Linked DNA regions of Homo sapiens: region 1 is linked to region 2. Evidence: promoter capture Hi-C in human tissues and cell types (Jung and others, 2019). All regions are on one chromosome and are shown on one strand. Each heading gives the region's core, a stretch centred on a gene start or on the middle of the fragment in contact. The rest is flanking DNA. Distances are from core to core; before and after follow the strand shown.

Evidence for each region. The method cuts DNA at HindIII sites, captures the fragments that hold promoters and counts their contacts. A contact is called where the count stands out against the background at its distance.
Region 1: a contact is called between a fragment that was not itself captured here and the fragment with the promoter of YES1 in region 2, in 1 of the 25 tissues and cell types used here (hippocampus).

The regions. Positions count from the first base shown.
Region 1 is chr18:517,788-522,613 of GRCh38, reverse strand. No RefSeq gene overlaps it. Among named protein-coding and RNA genes, the nearest start is that of LINC01925, 4.9 kb to the right of the region's middle. RefSeq lists an enhancer at 3,578-3,777. The HindIII fragment of the contact is 4,309 bases long and covers 959-4,826 here.
Region 2 is chr18:809,307-814,507 of GRCh38, reverse strand. It overlaps YES1 (YES proto-oncogene 1, Src family tyrosine kinase), which reads left to right and starts at 2,266. Exons shown (of 12, transcript NM_005433.4): 1 at 2,266-2,394. RefSeq lists enhancers at 1,064-1,605, 1,606-2,148 and silencers at 1,880-2,389, 2,440-2,499, 2,570-2,659. The HindIII fragment of the contact is 17,179 bases long and covers 1-5,201 here.

The sequences.
Region 1 (4,826 bases), core at 1,864-4,363, 290 kb after region 2:
CTTGCAGTAACATACCTTTTACCTGATGGTCTTCATCTGTGTTTTATCTTTAGCCGAAAAAAACAACAACAACAACAAAGAAAAAGCCCCCAAACCAGGATAAACTGGAAACATTTATTAAAGCAACCATCAATTTTACTGCCATCATATTTTGAGGCCTGAAACATCAAAGATTTACTGATGTTATCTATAAATAATAATTTTTACATGAGTTACAGTTAAACTATACATTCAAAGCATAACAATGGCAGGAGGAGCCTGGAAGAACTCTTACAGGTCATCCAGTCTAACTCCTTAATTTACCCAAGAGAAGACAGAAGACCTAGTGGAGGCCAGGCACGGTGGCTCACCCCTGTAATCCTAGCATTTTGGGAGGCTGAGGTGGGCAGATCACTTGAGGTCAGGAGTTCGAGACCAACCTGGCCAACATGGTGAAACCCCGTCTCCACTAAAACTACAAAAATTACCCAGGCATGGTGGCATGCACTGGTAGTCTCAGCTACTTGGGATGCTGAGGCAGGAGAATGGCTTGAACCTGGAAGGTGGAGGTTGCAGTGAGCCAAGACTGCGTCACTACACTCCAGCCTGAGCAACAGAGCGAGACTCTGTCTCCAAAAACAAAAACAAAAACAAACAAACAAACAAACAAACAAACAAAAACAACAGAAGACCTAGTGGGAAAGATTTACCTGTGTTTCATTCAACCTAACAATACAACAAGCGTTCACTGGGTCATGCTGTATGTGAGATTTGGTGTTAGATATTGAAAAATAAGGCCGGGCATGGTGGCTCACGCCTGTAATCCCAGCACTTTGAGAGGCCGAGGCGGGTGGATCACGAGGTCAGGAGATTGAGACCATCCTGGCTAACACAGTGAAACCCCATCTCCACTAAGAATACAAACAATTAGCTGGGTGTGGTGGTGGGCGCCTGTAGTCCCAGCTACTCGGGAGGCTGAGGCAGGAGAATCGCTTGAACCCAGGAGGCAGAGCCTTGCAGTGAGCTGAGATTGCGCCACTGCTCTCCAGCCAGGGCGACAAAGTGAGACTCTGTCTCAAAAAAAAAAAAAAAATAAACAAACAAACAAACAAAAAGAAAAAGAAAAGGATATAAAAAGATAGGTTACAACCTAGTTGGGAAAAGAAAGGTATGCAGACACATGCCGTGTAGTGTGATATATTCTATCATCGAGGTGTAAAATCAGATTCTTCAGGCCAGGCACAGTGGCTCATTCCTGTAATCCCACCACTTTGGGAGGCTGAAGCGGGCAGATAGCTTGAGCCCAGGAATTCAAGACCAGCCTAGGCAGCATGGTGAAACCCTGTCTCTACAAAAAATGCAAAAAAAAAAAAAAAAAAAAAGCCAGGCATGGTGGTGAGCGCCTGTAGTCCAAGCTGCCAGGGAGCCTCAGGTACGAGGATTACCTGAGCCTGGGAGGTTGAGGCTGCAGTGATCTGTGATGGCACAACTGCACTCCAGCCTGGGCAACAGAGCAAGACCCTGTCTCAAAAAATAAATAAATAATAAGTAAATAAAACAAAAAAGCAAATGAAGGATGAGGGATCAGTCAATTGGAGGCAGTTCATGGAAATTATTTTCTGAATAGGTGGTTTCTGAGTCTTGAACATTTGCCAGATGAGCCATGGGCAGGGGAGGAATGGGGACTAGAGCCAGAAACAGGCTGATAGAGCTCGGAAATTGTCAATAGATTTGTTTTGTTAAAGCCAAGGGCAAGATAGCCAGAGTTGAGGCTGAGAGAGAATCAGGCCACAACCGTGCCTGTCCTTCCCTCTATGCCACACAAAGGGCTTTGGACTTTTTCTGTAGCTGAGAACTTTCAGGCTGTGGACTCATAGAATAAGATGTGCATGAACTTACTTCACAGATGGGATGAACACGTGCGTGGAGGGGAGTTGGTGGTCAAATGGGATGCAGATACATATGGAAGGTGAGAGAAAAGAATAAATGAGGATTCTGACTTCAGCAAATGAAAAGAGGATGGGAATATTAACCAGAATACAGAATCCAGAAAGTAGTGGTTTTATGGAAAGACATGATTAGAATTTCAGTTTTGTTTTGAGTATATGAAATTCAAGTGTTTGGTGAACCTGCAAGTAGAAATTCCAGGGGAATTCTGGTTGGAATAGCATTGTGAGTTCATGAGTTCATGCAATACACTCCCCCTTTCCACCTGAAACACACAACCTGACGGCGAAAATATACTCAGAAAAACTGAAAAGACATTTACATCTCAGAAGGAAAGTGACTCACGCCTGTAATCCCAGCACTTTGGGAGGCCAAGGTGGGTGGATCACGAGATCAGGAGATCGAGACCATCCTGGCTAACACGGTGAAACCCCGTCTCTACTAAAAATACAAACAATTAGCCGGGTGTGGTGGCGGGCGCCTGTAGTCCCAGCTACTCAGGAGGCTGAGGCAGGAGAATGGCGTGAACCCGGGAGGCGGAGCTTGCAGTGAGCCGAGATTGTGCCCCTGCACTCCAGCCTGGGCGACAGAGTGAGACTCTGTCTCAAAAGAAAAAAAGCAAGGTGAACAGAGCATTGGACTACATACAGAAGAGAAAGACAAGCAAGACTGAAGCTGTGACCTGCTGCGTCCAGGTGTGGAACTAGGTGGACATGGAGTTGGTGTCCTGTGGGGTGATGAGGACTAAAAGAACCCTAGGCAAGGCAGAAACTAAGCGAGCCAAGCTGACCCTTACTCCTGCATCAATGGAAACTGAGAAAAGCTTCAAGCTTCAACCACCTGCCACCTGGGCCTCCACCTATGTGAGCTTCATACCTAGAGAGAGAGAAAGATGCAAACACAGCTCACACCCAGTACTTGGGCCAACACACACTCTGGCTGGAGGACTATTCCCTCTATAACCGGCGATAGGACATGAAGAATCCACGTAAGACTTAGCTCTGGACACAAGGCCCAGGAGGCCTGCAGGAAGGTTTCTGAAATGTACTAACAGGCAGTGATAAGCACAGAGAAGAGGAAACAAACAAAAACTCTCACATTCAAAATAAACCTGCAAACCAAATATCTCCAAACATGAAGAAAACTAAATAAAGTATAAGGCATTAGTTGGCTATGGCCACAACAACGCTGTGTAACAAAATTCAGAAGCTTCAACTGTTATAACTGTTTACTCTCAGGAACATGGGGCTGCTGGCAGGCTGTCACTTCGCTGGGTTTGGCTGGACTCCAGGCTTTAGCACAGCCTCTGGGCTGTAGGCCCTAGGCCCCAGGTTGGCTTCAATTCTGGCCCATGGGTGTCTGTCTCATCCCTCTGGGACCAAATGCTACCAGGCCACGTGGTCTGCTTCACATTTCTCATTCGGGGGCCCAGGCTCTGGGGACAGCAGTTGTTCATATCCCCCTCGTGACAGATCATCAGAGAACAGGAGGGAGAGCCCAACAGCAAGGCATATTTCACGTCGCTCCAAATAGGCCTGTGAGACAGAAGAAAACCAAGCTGTTTCCTCCTCTCTACTCTCACACAGTGACTCAACACTTTTGACACCAGATATGTGGGGGATTTTCCTCACACACCAAGCAACCAATTCTTCAGCAGATTCTCCAGCGGACACTAGCTAGGTTTCCTCTAATTTAATTCAATTCTGACATTTTCTACCAAGATAGCAATAGATCCCACGGGTTGGGGACTCAGTCCCGCAGGACTGCCCCCAACTTCAGAAGCCAATCGCAAGCCCCAGACGTAGCCAGTGCTTCTGACCTATCAGCTATAAATCAGGGTTCCCGTGCCCTCTTCCTCAGGTTTTATTAATTTGCTAGAGCTGCTTACAGAACTCGGGGAAACACTTTACTCACACTTACCAGTTTATTGTAAAGAATAGGACAAGGCTACAGATGAACAACCAGATGCAAGAGATTCACAGGGCAAGGCACGTGAGTAGGAGCCCGGAGCTTCCATGCCCTCTCCAGGGCACTGCCCTGCAGGAACCTCCAAATGTTCAGCTATCTGGAACCTCCCCCATCACGCATCCCCAACCCACCCGCTTTTTGGGTTTTTATGGAGGCGTCATCACCTAGGCACAATTGCTTAAATCATTGGCCACTGGTGATCAACTTAACCTTCAGCCCCTCTCGCCTGCCCAGAGATTGGAAGTAGGGCTCAATGTCCCAACCCTGTAATCCTGTCTTGGTCTTTCTGGTGACCAGCCCCTATCCTGAAGCTACCCAGGGGCCCCCAGCCACCAGTCATCTCATTTGCATACAAAAGATACTCTTATCACTCCAGAGATTCCAGGGATTTTAGCAGCTGTATGCTAGGAAACAGGATGAAGACCAAATGTGTATTTCACAATATCATGATGGTCAAAGCAAGTAATATGGACAAGCCCAAAGCCGAGAAGCAGGAAATGACTCCACCCAGCATGAGGCCAAAATAAAGGTGTGAAAATATACAGTCACTTGGAGCTTAGTGAAGGGGGTATGCTTTAAGAAACGCATCCTTGGGCCAGGTTCTGTGGCTCACGCCTGTAATCCCAGCACTTTGGGAGGCCGAGGTGGGTGGATCATGAGGTCAGGAGATCGAGACCATCCTGGCTAACACGGTGAAACCCTGTCTCCACTAAAAAATACAAAAAAATTAGCCGGGCATGGTGGCGGGCGCCTGTAGTCCCAGCTACTCGGGAGGCTGAGGCAGGAGAATGGCGTGAACCCGGGAGGCGGAGCTTGCAGTGAGCCGAGATTGCGCCACTGCACTCCAGCCTGGGCGACAAAGCGAGACTCCTTCTCAAAAAAAAAAAAAGAGACACATCCTTAGGAGATTTTGTCATTGTGAGGTCATCATA
Region 2 (5,201 bases), core at 1,017-3,516:
GTTTGTTTGTTTAAAGCTTTCCCCTAGCTTTTTCCTCCAGCAGACATTTCCAGGGGTTTCAAGACTTAAGTTCCTTATCACTCCCTAACACACATGTACATACCACACCTCTATGCTGTGCAGGAGGGAAAAGTAGGGGCAAGCTTATTTGTCCGTTTCAGGATGAACAGATTAAAAGCAATTTTTGTTACACCAAACTCAGTAAGACTTTCCAGTTTTCTCTTCCTCATTAAAAAATTTTTTAAAAAATATTCCTGGAAACAAGTGAGCCACTAAATGTAAGATTGAAAACTTTCCAGGTTATTTACAGACTGAAGTTTGACATTGATGAATATACTAAAAAAGAAATCAGGGAATGTAGTAATAAAAAAAAAAAGGGAGGGCGAAGAGAAGCAAACTCAGTAAGTCAATGTAATCCATAACTTGTAGGTGACATTCTGACATACTCTCCCAACTTTAAAACTCCATATAGAACATCTTCAAAGCCACCTTACCCCTTAAACTGGGGCAAACTACTATTTCATTTCATTATTATTTTTTAAAATATATTTTACTAAATAGATAGGAGGTCTCCCATGTTGCCCAGGCTGGTCTCCAACTCCTAGACTCAAGTGATCCTCCTGTCTTGGACTCCCAGAATGCTGGGGTTACACGTGTGAGCCACTGTGCCCGGCCTATTTTAGAGGTGATTTTTGAGACTGAGTGTTTAGGAAGACGAAATTATCTCTATTTAGTGAAGAAAGGCAACAGCTCAAGGAATTTTCTATTTTAATAAAAGCTGAATATAGACCTACATAAAATTTTAAAGCCCTGAGACAGTCAATGACAAATGAAGTTTTAGTAGCTAAGAAAATACAGCATCGTTCCACATTATGTGTCTCTTTAACGCCTACGCCTACCTTTCGTTCATTTAGTGAGCTGAAGAAAAAAATGTTCAAACCCTTATATGCATTTCCTTAAGTTCCTAGAATACCGGAATACTGACACATATGATTGCACTATTTCCTATCCGTCGAAGATGATTCTGAATTTCACTAAAAACCGCAAAGGAAACCAATAGTCACAAAATAATTCTGATAACCCCACCAAAGAGGAAATAAAGAGAGGAAGTTACTCTAAAAGTCTGATAGGGCAAAAGTGACTGCAGCAGAAGGGCCTCAAGGTTCAGTCCATGAGGACCTTGATTAACCTTCATCTTTACGCCCCCACCCCATCCTTCCGGGTCCTCCCCCTTCTTCAACGACTGGCTTTACAAGGCTCATAGGAAAGGTGCGTGTATTCAGACGGACACGATTCCAGCTGTGGCTCCTCCACTTTCAGGGTCGCTGTTTCCACAGTTGACAAGCAGGAGAACCATACTTGTTGCACTTCCCTCACTGGGCTGCCGCCAGCATCATATAGAAAAACGCTGTCCCAACATAAGCCAAAGCCACCATGACTGGGATAGTCGCCAAACAGAACTCAGCTTCGGTTCCCCTCCCGGCAAGGCTGGTTCGACCTACAGTCAACAGGAAGCTCCTGGGGGCAGGGACAGGATCCCTGCCTCGGAAGGAGGCAAGACGTGAACGTTTTTTGGACGGCGATCAGGATGGTGATGAGGGTGTGAGTAACGCCCCCGGCTCACGCGGTTGGGCTTGAGATTTTACTACCAACGACAAAGGGTGCGGAAGCGTAGCGCTGAGAAGCAAACAGCCAACCAAAAAAACTCAACCCCGTCCTCCCCCACAAAAGCAAGCCCCAAAGCCCTGGCCACTACTGAGAGCTGGGCCAAGGAACAGAGAAAGGCAGAGGGGCAGAATCGGAGCGCTCCATTCAATCTCCGCGGCAGCCGAGCGTCGGTGGGTTCGCGGGTGGGAAGGGACGCCGCGGGCCTGCTCTCCGGGCAGGGAAGCACCTCCTCCTCACGCCCCCTCGGCCTGCACCGCCCCCGGGAATCCGCCCCGGACCCCGCCGCCATGTTGGGTCGGGAGAAGTGACACGGACCGGTCGCCTATCCTGACCACAGCAAAGCGGCCCGGAGCCCGCGGAGGGGACCTGACGGGGGCGTAGGCGCCGGAAGGCTGGGGGCCCCGGAGCCGGGCCGGCGTGGCCCGAGTTCCGGTGAGCGGACGGCGGCGCGCGCAGGTACCCGCAGCCCCCGCCCCCGCTAGAAGTCAGGGGGCGGGGCCGGGGGGGGGGGGCGGAGGAGGTGGAGAGTGAGGCCGAGGCGTGGGGAGCCCGGGAACTCCCTCCTCCTGAAGTAACGCGTCCCGGGCCGGCTCTGCCGTCGTTGCTGCCGCCGGGCGCCCCGGGACGAGGAGGTGGAGGAGGGAGAGGGCCCGCGGGCCTCGCCTCCGCCCTCCGCCACCTCGAGCTGCGGTAGCAGCGACTCATGAGAGCGCGGCCGGAGGACAGGTAAGGACCCGGTGGGGCCCCGCGGGCGGAGGGTTCCACCTCTGCCCGGACAGGGCTAGGCCCCAGCGCCCGGAGCCGCCGCCGCCGCCGCCGCCGCGGTTCCCCGCCCCCGCGGGCCCGAGTCGGGAAGTTGGGAAGAAACTTCTCCCCTCCCCCGGATCGCCCGGCGGGCTTGTCTCGTTCCCCGCGCTACCTGCTCGCCCCTGACTCGGTCTCTGCCCTGTCCAGACCTGCCGGGTCCCGCCCAAGTCCGACCTGAGGTTCCAGGGGCGTGGGGACACTCCCCACCCCTTGTCTTTGGGGTCGTGTGGACCGCCCGGCGACGGGGAGGAGAGGTTTATTTTTGCCCCTACGGCCGAAGTAGGGGCGAGGGAAGCGGCCCCTTTGGGTCCTAAAGGCTGGGGGTCTGTGTATCGGCCGACGCCGGTAGCAGCTGTGCGGGGAGAGGAGCGGGTGTGTGGGGCGAGTGGATGAGCCTTTCTGGCTTTACTTGGTTTGATTGAAAACCGCAACATGTTTAAAGTTTTCCTTTGTTTTGGGTTGGGGGTTGGGAAATTTACCATTCAGCGTCCACTTTTACGGAATCATGCCACTCCGCCTCCCGTTGCGTTCGGTTCCCTGTCCACATGTGTTAAAGAAAATTGTCTTAAAGTGTGTTTTTCTTCTTGATAATTGCTTCCAGCTTTCACTTTATTGGGCATGGGGCAGAGCTGTTTTAAGAAGCTCTTTGAAAATCAAGTCTGGTGTAGGGACTTTAGTTTTTGTTTTGTAATGAGTAGGACTTAACAGTTCGGATTTGGTTGAATCATTTTCTGCATAATTAATTGATACAGGCGTGGAATAACATACTGTATAATTATAAATTACTAAAGGAAATAATGAAAGTCTTTGGTGGAAGCACAATTTTATGTCCATTTATTATGTATATACGTTCCACGGGTGTGTGTTTTCACAGTCGATTTCACATGATATGATTATAGTATCTTCATGTATTATAACTGTAAGATTACAGTGCCAAAGATACCTTGATAATTTTAAATATTTAAACCATCCTGTTACACTTCTAAAGTTAAATTACGCACTAAGGAAAGTATTACTAAATGTATACACGTGACTGTGCATTTAAGGAAAAGTGCATGGTAAATCTAATATCTTAACTATCACAGTGCTTGGCACACGGTGGACAGGAAGCATTTTGAATGGTCAGGTAATAAAGGAGTATCTTGTATTAGCCAAGGATCTTGTATGCATCACTTACGATGTTCATATATTGTACAGTAAGAAAGTTTTACTTTAGCAAATAATATATATGGTTTTTTGGTTTTTGTTTGTTTGCTTATAAGTGTGAGACCCCTGCCACAATTGACATGTAAGGAAAGGAAGTTAAATTGTATTTTTATTTTTGGACATTAGCTAAAAGTCGGTGGAGATTTTAAATGCTGGTTGACAATTCAGAGGGTCCTACATTTGAAAAAGACAATTGCCTTTGATCTGAAAACAAAACAGTTTATATCCATGTTTCCAGGATAAAAGATAAAAGGGCTCTTAAAATATATACTCTGTTGTAACCACTGTAATGTTATAATGGCTTTAATTTCGTAGTTAGGTTTTGCTGACTTCATAAACCACAAAATTGATTCCTTTCTGTTCATCTGAAAGTGAAATTACAGCTTTGACCTGTCTTCCTGGGTTAGGTGGAATTTGTCTTGTGGTCGAAGTATAATATTAATACATGGGCTGTTTTTGTGTGTGTGTTTTAGTTCAGGAAATTCACAAGCTGAAAAATTAATGTCTATGCAAGTAAAATTTCTTCATGGTATGTATTGATAAAAGAATAAATGTGCTAAAAGACTAGAAGTAAACCTGTATAAGTGAAATATTACCAACCGATGGTGTAAGACTTACTTATTCAAAGTTGAAATTTGCATCATGTTAGACAGTAAATGATTTACTACTATGGCTAGTTTTTCTTTACAAAATCAGTGTAGACATCGTTTATTCTATTAGCATTATAGTAAGAAAGAAGACTAATGCCAAAACAATTTTTTAAGTGATGCTAAGCGCTGGGGTCACCCAAACTTGGGTAATTAAAAAAAAAAAAAAACCTGCAAGGAAATTCTGTGAACGTAAAAATAGAAGCATAGAATACCTGTGGTTCTATGAAGGGAAATATATGGGAAGAGGGAGGAGATTGTGATAGGGACCTGGCTTCTGAAGTGGTGACAAAGTTCTTTTAACCTGGTAGGAGTTACCAAGGGTATTGGTCTTAGTGTAATTCATTAAGCCCTACGTTTGTGTGCAGAATCTGTTTCTATGTTTTATTTTACATGAATTTGTTGTTGTTTTTTTAAGGAATCCAGTGTGTAATGTCTATATAAGGTGCTTGGTTTAAGAACATAACTTGGTGGCTGACTTTCGAACACTACCTAGGCTATCCTTTGCAAATAGGATTAGATTTATTAAATCATAATTGTCATATACCAGCTGTATGTATAACTACTTTGAACACGTCAGGCTGGGCACGGTGGCTCACACCTGTAATCCCAGCACTTTAGGAGGCAGAGGGAAGGGGATCACTTGAGGCCAGCAGTTTGAGACCAGCCTGGCCAACGTGGTGAAACCCCATCTCTACTAAAAAGTACAAAAATTATCTGGGTGTGGTGGCGCGCCCCTGTAATCCCAGCTACCTGGGAGGCTGAGGCACGAGAATCGCTTGAACCCGGGAGACAGAGATTGCGGTGAGCTAAGATAGTGCCAGTGCATTGCAGCCTGGGCAACAGAGTGAGACTGTCTCCAAAAAAAAAAGT